2 separate regions of the Homo sapiens genome follow, and region 2 is linked to region 1. The links are contacts of gene promoters, found by promoter capture Hi-C in blood cells and fetal thymus (Javierre and others, 2016). All regions are on one chromosome and are shown on one strand. Each heading gives the region's core, a stretch centred on a gene start or on the middle of the fragment in contact. The rest is flanking DNA. Distances are from core to core; before and after follow the strand shown.

Evidence for each region. The method cuts DNA at HindIII sites, captures the fragments that hold promoters and counts their contacts. A CHiCAGO score of 5 or more calls a contact.
Region 2: a fragment that was not itself captured here is called in contact with the fragment with the promoter of NDFIP2 in region 1 in 1 of 17 cell types (activated CD4 T cells); the score reaches 5.5 in activated CD4 T cells.

The regions. Positions count from the first base shown.
Region 1 is chr13:79,479,498-79,484,335 of GRCh38, reverse strand. NDFIP2 (Nedd4 family interacting protein 2) reads right to left here and starts at 3,181. Exons shown (of 8, transcript NM_019080.3): 1 at 2,812-3,181. The coding sequence starts at 3,132. It overlaps NDFIP2-AS1 (NDFIP2 antisense RNA 1), which reads left to right and starts at 3,105. Exons shown (of 3, transcript NR_046685.1): 1 at 3,105-3,184; 2 at 4,406-4,500. The HindIII fragment of the contact is 10,753 bases long and covers 606-4,838 here.
Region 2 is chr13:79,358,733-79,363,450 of GRCh38, reverse strand. It overlaps RBM26 (RNA binding motif protein 26), which reads left to right. Exons shown (of 22, transcript NM_001366735.2): 10 at 3,765-3,876. Among named protein-coding and RNA genes, the nearest start is that of RBM26, 45 kb to the left of the region's middle. The HindIII fragment of the contact is 4,955 bases long and covers 135-4,718 here.

The DNA of each region.
Region 1 (4,838 bases), core at 1,932-4,431:
TCCTTTAAAATAGAGAACTTTGGCCGGGCTCTGTGGCTCACACCTGTAATCCCAGCACTTTGAGAGGCCAAGGCGGGCAGATTATTTGAGGTCAGGAGTTCGAGACCAGCCTGGCCAACATGCTGAAACCCCATCTCTACTAAAATACAAAAATTAGCCAGGTGTGGTGCACCACACTTGTAGTCCCAGTGACTCAGGAGGCTGAGGCAGGAAAATCACTTGAACCCAGGAGGCGGATGTTGCAGTGAGCCGAGATCACGCCACTGCACTCCAGCCTGAGTGACAGACACTCCATCTCAAAAAATAAAAATAAATAAATAAATAAATAATAAAATAACGAACATCAAAGTTAGAATGTGGTCTAGCAGCTGCAAGCCAAGTCAACTTCGTCATAGTTAGCAACACTGCTCATTTACTAACAAACAAAACTGAATTTCCCATAAAATTACGTGTCATACCTGGCTTTTTCTGAAATTAGAAGGGTAACAATCAAGAATTTTTGTAGCTCTAAACTGTTATCCACTGCTTTACTCAATAAATTTTGGATGCTTTTAACAATGAAAGGAAAGAAGAGATCACAGAAAAAGCAGTTTCTAGATAAAGCTTGTGCATTGGCTAATGGTAGTAAGTCCTTCTGATGACCCTGAGCATCACTGCTAGCTTTCCAGTATGAAAAGCTGTTTTTAAACTCTTTAAGTAAGTGAAAAATTAACATTGCATACCATCTCACCCCTAAGTATACTTGCCTATCTCCTGACTTAGTCATCCCTTAACATTCAACAACTCAAGTGGTTTATTGCTCCAGTTTATTAAGCATTCCAGTTTTCCCAAAAACTGAGCTAAAGGCAACCACAAAATAGTTGTGTTCATCATATAAGCCAGAGCTGAAGACTGATCCCTAGTTTAAAAAGTCTATTGAAAATGTCAATTCAGCTTTTTCTCTGGCATACACTGATGTTATTAATCAGGCCATTATAAACAAAACCAAGAGTTATACTAGATAGGTTAAATGACTACGTAAATTGTGTAACTCTAACACTAACATTGCCTTACAATGTTAGTTGTAAGTTGCCTTACAAGGAGAACAGATCGATGTCCTACCTAAAGTACTACCTTTAGAGGGACTGGTAGGCTTTATCTTTAGAAGAACTGATTTTTGCCCTCTGTTCTCAAGGAACATTCAAAGTCTATGTAGGACACATCGTCAGTTTGAAAAAAACGAGGGGAGGGGGCAGCAATAAAATATGCCCATTTATTTTGAAAGGAGTTGTTGGGAAAACAAATATCTTAAAACTGAGAGCTACATAAATTAACAGTGTTTTGGGTAGTGACGTCTGTAGGAAAAATGAAACAAGTTTCACTGCTGATATTATTCAATATTTATATCATTTTATTTTTGCTAACATTTACAAACCTAGAAATGCCTTTCAAACCATCAAAAGGGTGTACACTGACAACTTGAAAAACGCTTTCCATACTGGGAGAAACAGTATTTCCCAAGTTGTTGAGAAAAGCTGATAAATTTTCAAAGAATTCGGAATATGGACCTTTTGTAGGTTTTAAGGAATGCAAACCAATTGAAAATGGAAGCCTCATGAGCTTTTATCTTAGAAAAATGCAAAATTACATACTTTAGGATCTCATCTTACAGTTCCTTCATATTTGCCAAAATGTACTTATTAATAGAAAGTCTTGGCTTATAACCTGTCTTACATGTGCAAATAGATTTGAAAGTTGAAACCTGGGACTAACATACCTAAATTTGTAAAATTTTATAAACCATAAACTGCATCACCAGTGCTATGTATTGTTTTTCTCCTCTCCCTCAGTAAATGGGCTGAAAGTTTGTAGAATGACATGCTACCTAGCTGCAACAGCACAACAGCAGAGTCAACTATTGCTCAGTCCATCTTTAACTAAGGTTTACAACAGGAATCTCCAACGTCACCACCAGAATACACAAAGAAAAATATATTTAAAAATTGACACTGAAAATATAGAGGAACACATTTCACTTTTTTCAACATAGTTACCAAAGTTTACACAGTTAAGCTGGAAAACCTTGTATTTAACGAAAAATAATTTTTCAAACAAGATTAGAATTTGTTCTACTAAAACTACCTCTGTTTCCCCTCTAACCAAAAAAAAAAAAAAAAAAAAAAAAAAGAAAGAAAGAAAGAAAGAAAAAGTGGGGATTACCAAAAAATACAGTCATTTTTAATACTAACATAATGGAAAAGGACAAAATGACAAGGTTAACGAGCAGAGAGACAAGATCAGCATTATGGCTAGTCTTTCTCTACAGTTCCACAATTCCTAACCCACATTTTTGCCAAATCCACATCCCACCCCACGCAGTACTTACACCTCCACCCACCTACTCACCCACCCCATTTATGACGGCGATCACCTTCCGGGCAGGTATGTGAAGTCAGCCCCATTTCCAGTAGACAATCGACTAGAATGTCTCAGGAGTGACTGAGTCAGAGAATAAGAAAATGATAAAGTGAGAAATTAAAACGGATACAAGTTGTAAGGTGTGTGGAGGGAGGGCGTCTCACAGCGGGGCTAAGGGTGCGGGTGAGGAGCTAAGCAGACTTGGGGCGAGAGAGAAGGGTTTCGAAGGAGTCCTAGGCAGGAGTGCGCAGGTGAGGCGAGTGAAGCAGCTCCAGCCAGAAGATCCAAAAAAACAAAACAAAACACAACAAAAAAAAGCCACAGCTTTTCCTCCGGGAATAACCTGAGGAAAGGGACTCTCGGGACGCCGCGGCGGGAGGCAGTCCCGGGAGGCACAGGAGGCCGGGAACTCACCACCTGGTAGCGCCCAGTCCCCGGCTGGTGGTGATCCATCCTGCCCGGCTCGGGATCCGGCTTCCGAGAGAGGGAGTCTTCTCCGTGCTCAGCTCCCACGGCCACCCCCGTCGACGACGTCGTCGCCGCAGGGCCCCTTCCGCCTCCGTTCCTGCAGCCGCGGTCTCCCGGCGGAAGCTCTTCACTTCCTGTGGCTCCCGCAGCGGCCGCCGAGACCTCCGCGTTGGTCGCGGTTCCGCGGAGAAGCTCCGGGGCGCCGCGCGCGCTATTGAGCATGCTCGGACCGCTCGCGCAGACTCGCTGGCTCCGCCGGCGTGCCATCCGCGCCGCCAGTGGGAGGGTATAGCTGGGTGGGAGGAGATGGAAAAGTAAGGCAAGTCCGGGGGAGCTGTCTAGGTTGTCAACCTGTCGAGTGGGCGGTCGCAAAAGGCGCGCGGGGGGCGGGAATGACCCGTCCTTGATTGGTCTTTTCTGTGTGCGCGAGTTTCGCGCAGGCACGAGCCAGTGCGCCTTCTCACCACACAGAGACAGAGGCTGACAAGGGATGGGGCCGCGTTCCTAGAACACCTGAGGACAGGTCGCCCGGGTACCCGACACTTCCTCACCCAGCGTAGGACATGGGGAGGAGATTCATCTCTAGAACATTCCCAAAACGCTTATTCAAAATCATTCGTAAGATAAGCGATTTTTTAAAGACTAATATAGAGTAGTTAGAGTTTACAGAAAAATTGAGAAGTTACAGAGATATCCCATATACACTTGGCTCCTACGCATGCATAACCCCCCACCATTATCAACATCCCCCCTCAGAGTGGTACATGTGTTACGACTGATGAACCTGCATTGACACCTCATCATCACTCAAAGTCCATAGTTACCTCAGGGTTCACTCAGGTTGTTGTATACTCCTCGAGTTAGAACAAATGTGTAATGGCAGGTATCCATCATTATAGTATCCTACAGAGTATTTCCACTGCCCTGAAATTCTTCTGTGGGGTAATTTTTGTTTTTGTTTGTTGTTTTTTTAGAGATGGGGTCTCACTATATTGCCCAGACTGGAGTGCAGTGGCTGTTAGCAGGCGCAGTCATGGCTCACTGTAGCCTCGAACTCCTCGGCCCAAGCTATCCACCTGCCTCAGCCTCTGGAGTAGCTGAGACTACAGGCACTAGCTCTTTGGTTACTTTTTAAACTCTTTTTTCCACTTTTTGGTAATAAGAGATTTAAAAATCCAACGGACTCTCCAGACAACTCTCAAAGAAAGAGGTCTCTAGAGTTCTAGGTTACTGGAAGGACGTTAGAAGAAAGTAATGAAATCAGATAGGATTATTTTGTGGTAATACTCAATAATTCCAATTGATTTAACAGCAAGGAATCACTTGGGAGCACTGTTAGTAGTATCTCACTGTCTGGTTAACCACACATGACACGGCATAAAGCATATTTCTCTAGCAAGTAGAAGAGTATGACAGAGCAGCGAAAAGTACCTTTTAACCTGAAGACCAACGTTCTATACCCTAAAAACTATGATGCTGCTTGATGTGGCCCAGCTATGTTTTTAACATAACACCACATTTTCCCTAAATGATCTTACAGTGGAGCGCCCTGAAGGGAAGGAAAGGGATCTGGAGCCCCATTTATTTCCTTCATGAATGTCCAGAGGAGATCCTTGAAATGAAGACTGCCACTGGGTGAGCCTAATCAACTGGTTAAAATAGCAAGATAGAATAAAAACAGAAACTCTTTGAGAGATTGACAACTAAAAAATGTAAGCCTTCCTCATAGTTCTTTTTAAAGCATTCATCAACTCTTCCTATTTGTGCCGTTTTGACATGTCTAATAGCATAAAGCATTACTGTGCTAACAATAAGAGGCAGTGATATCTCATACTTAAATATTGTTAAACTTGCCTTGTTTTGATCTTAATGTATTTTAGTTTCTAAGCCAATAAACATATGCCATTTTATTGGTATTACTGGTACAAACGCTCACTCTCACAATTTCACTCCAAATGGTATTGCCTCTCGAT
Region 2 (4,718 bases), core at 1,363-3,862, 120 kb after region 1:
TGAGGATTGCCTTTAGTCCTTCTGTTTTCTTATCTCTTTTTAGTCCTCTCCCTCCTCCCACCATGTGTTCTCATCTATTCCCAGTTTGGATTTTAAATTTACTGTCCTGGATTGTGACAGATACATAAAAAGCTTATTTATTGTTAATTATATAATTATTACACGTTCCTAATAGCCTATAGATGGCCTTAATTTAAATTTGTCATAGACTTATTATTATGTGATAGTTAAACTTTTATGCTTACTGCTTTAAATTTTGAGGGCAATTATTCAGCAAAAGGAAAGAAATTTGGGCCCTTTGATGCATTGAAATTACTAATGTAAAAGTTACCTAGAGGCCCTGACAGTTATTTTTTGCAGAGTTCTAAGGAGGTGGAAAACTTGATGGATGATGTCATGATTGGATATAGGGAGGAGGAAGGGTTAAGTAGTTTTCCATTTCTAGTCAACAAAACCAGTGCTGACAATTTTAGGCAGAAAAACAATTCATTAAAATGATTATTGGGGAAAAATACATTACATAAAACTATTTAATATTAGATCATTTGCTGAGTATATACCAAGAGGAACTTGCTTCTGTGTTTTTAATACCCTTCTTTTAAATATATATCAATGAAAGGGATTCCGAATTAGAGAATACAGATGAGATGGAGCAAACCCATTTCAATTACTGGAGGCAAAACACATTATTCCCTCTCTTAGTGAACCTTCAGGTACGGAACATATTAAAGTAAAAAACAAAAGATGTTGGATAGGTCACAGATTCTCCAAAAGGGCTGGTGAACCAGACTTGGGAGACAGGAATAAGACCAAAAATCCTTTTGCAGAACCGGTCCTTGGAAGGTACCACTGGACAGAGAAACATCGCACGTGCTAGATACAGGATGTTTCCTAGAGATGTAGGATAAGTCAGAGTTAGACAGAGGAAGAGAATAGATACAGCCTATGTACCCTGTGATACTTTTGAGAAACTGAAGGAATTTTGTGACTGTAAGAGAAGAAGTAAGTAATGTAGAGGGAGGTAAGAGGCTAATTAAAAGCATTTACAGAATTTTAGAATAGAGGTGATAGTAGCTGGGCTAGGGTAATAATAGAAATGAAAAAAATAAGTTTAGTGGAAAGAATTGACAAAACTTGTAACTTATTTAATTTGGAGGCTTAGAATAGGGGTAATAAGTGGATGAAATTAGACACCCGTTTCCTGCCCTGGATAATTGGGCAGATGATAATATCATTCATTGAGAAGGACAGCTTTGACAGAAAGATAAATTTAGTTTTGAAAGTGTTTAACTTCTTGTCCCCCTGGGGCATTTGAGTAGAAATGTCCAGTGGGAAATAGGATATGGAAGTCTGAGGCCCATGAGAGACAGTTGACTAGAATATACAGATTTTGGAATCATGCATATGTAGAACTTTGGTCCTTAATCTTTTCTTCTGTCCCATTAGTACCAGTGGGAGGTAAAGGGAGATAGAAGGAGCCATACCAAAATCTGTAGGTCTGACTTAACATAATTTTAAAAACCTTTCTCGTGCGTTTCTAAAATCTTCCTCTCCCCATCCCCACTGAGAATCACTGAAAAAGATGAATGAAGCCATGGCAGTAGATAAGAAAGTTATTTTAGGAAGGCTATGTAAAGTGAGATGAGAAAACCCAAGTATAACTACTTGACAAATGTCAGCATCAAAGTAAATGGACAGAGAAAGGAGAACTTTATAGAAAACTTAGAAATGAAGCCCAAAAGCTGCAGACAAAAGCAAGGAGTGGGGATTCCTAAAAACCCAGGGAATATAATACCTAAGATGGAAAAGAAGATGATCAACAGCCGCAAATTCTCCTGAGAGGTCCAGTAAGAGGACTGGGATGTATTCATAGGCTTAAGCAACAGGTGAGGACATGAGTGATTTTAGCACGAGCAAGTAAAGTGAAGTAATGGGAGCAACTGCCAGTTTTCAGAGGATTAGTGAGTGGGTGTTAAGGAAGCAAAGTTAGTAAGTGTGGACATTGATTAGGAAAGGGCTGTGGGAGTATGGAGAGAGATGTTGTTGCTAAAGGGAAAACTGGTTTTACGAGAGTTTCTTTTTTTTAAAATGGAGTAATTAGAGCTGTAATGTTTGAATGTTGATGGGAGGTATCAGTGTCCTGGGAAAGGTTGAAAATGGAGGAAAGCAGCAGGAGTCTAGAGCGTTGATTTGAGTCTCTGTATGTATGGCATATGTGGGTAGTCATATATCAAATATGACTTGACTGGGATGATTGGGAAAATGGTAGTTTCATTAATAGAAATGTTTAAGAAAAATAAAAGATAGACTTAATATGAAAATAATTTGAACGTTCTGCATAGTGAGTTTTGAGATACCTGTAGGATTTCCAGAGAGAACAAAGAAGTTGAAAATTTAGAATTGAGTATATGCTCTCCTCCTGCAGGAGACCATAGCTGTGGCCATGAGAGATATTGTGCTGAAACAGATCTTCAGTTCTTTTGGTTAGTTAGGTGTTTAGAAATATGTAAAAATAGGATTTTAGACAAATCAATTTTGCCATCTATAAAAAAGGAGTTTTTAAGTTACATTTTTCTATGTGGATTAAGGTTTGCATGTTTTAAACTTTGGAGTCATTTGGGAATAACAGGTTAAATGTACTATGCTCATTACATGCCATGTAAGTAAATATAAAATGTTGAAAGTAACAGACTTTTACAGCTCTTTTACACTGTATTTTAGACTTGAATCTTTTCCTTTTTTAAAGCAAGTATGCTTTCATTACATTCATATTTTATGAGTCTATTCCATATTTAAAAGCAGCTCACTTCAATCATAACTCTAACCTTTCACTTCTCAAAGATTATTGGATTAGTGTAAAGTTTTGAATCTTTTAGATTGTGCATTTGATTTCAAAACTATGAACTTAAAGCCTCAAAGTGATTATTTTCTCATTTGTGCATTGATATATATATATATATTTGTGGTGAGGGTGATGGTAGATGGGAACAATGACTTGGGTTTTATCTACAAAGAAGTGACCTACAGAATCACATTTTAATTTGGCATGTGAGAATTGATTCTTTTTCATAGTTAATTGTGAAATGAATATGTTGAAATAAGTTTGAAAAAACCCTTAGATTACTGTATTTGAATGTACAGTAATTCCCCTTTGTCTGTGGGTGATATGTTCCAAGACTCCTCGTGTGTAAAACCACAGAGTACCAAACCCTACATATACTATGCTTTTTCCTATACAGTCACACCTGTGATAAAGTTTCACTTATAAATTAGACACAGTAAGAGCTAAACAACAATGTCTAATAATAAAATGAAATAATTATAACAATATACTATAATAAAAGTTATGTGAATGGTCCCTGTCTTTCTCTGTCAAATATCTTTTTGTATTTACCCTTCTTGGGATGATAGGGGATGATAAAATGCCTACATGATGAGATCAAGTGTTGGAGCAGGATGGTGTGAGATTTTATCACACTACTCAGAACTGCAGGCAGTTTAAAACTTAGGAATTGTTTACTATTTCTGTAGTTTTCCATAATTTTGGACTGTGGTTGACTAGAGATAACTGAAATCGTAAAAATGAAACTGGATAAGGGGGAGCTACTATACATTTATTTCTATTTCTTCTAAAAAAAAAATTATATATATATATATATATTTAGACAAAAGCCAGAAATTTTCCTGTATGAGGAAGGTATCTATGATAAATAGAAAATATTAACCTATGCTTATTTTTTTCATTTTCTTTTGTTTTAAAACAGAAAAGCCTCCCAATAAAAGCAGTATGAGGATAGTAGTGGACTCAGAATCAAGGAAAAGAACCATTGGTTCTGGAGAGCCTGGAGTTCCTACAAAGAAGACTTGGTTTGATAAGTAAGGTGGCCAGGAAAATTGAGGAGTATAATTGTGCATTGATTTTCAGGATCATTTCTGTATTATTATGACAATATGGTTTGGTTTCTTCCAAAAATGTTACTCTGTTCTGTAAGCAATCCCCAAGTGTGAGTTTTCTAAAAATTGGCAAGTTAGTTGTCTGATGTTAGAAAAGCATTTTCTTACAGAAATGGTGTGGTAGTTCAGGGCATAATTTTTTCCTCTTATCATTTACCCTCCTCCAAAAAACCCACTCTTTAACTTAGACCTGTTGAATACTAGCTATATACAGGATAGTCATGAGCCTCTCATCATTAGAGGAAGGAGGTATAGATCAGACCTGTCAAGAGACTTTCATATGTAGGCAGTTCCTGCTAGGTAGGAGCTAGAAAGGGCTTTTGTGGGGGTTGGAGAGGCTGTCTAGGCATTGAATGGTCAAGAAAGAGCTTCAGATAAAGGGGTAAGGAATCAGAATGTTAAGATATGTGTGAGGTGATTCATTTATAAATAAATCTGTGAAGAGAGACTAGGATCACTTTTAGAGCTTTAACATCTACTTAATAATGGATAGTTTCTAGTTGTTTGTGATTAATTCTGTGATTTAATGCAGAGTAACCTCTCTAGGCCACAGTTTTGTCCTTTCTTCAAGTGTCAAAATGTATTCTTTATAGTTCCAACAATTCTTTTTTTCTTTTTTTAAATAAAGCGGGAAAGAGGTTGAGACTGTCATCAAAGAAAATAAAATTTAAAATCAAATTTAAAACATAAAGTTTTAAGATAGGATATTTTTTAGTAAGCTGACTTTTACAGAATCAGAATAAAGGTTATATATGCAAATTGAC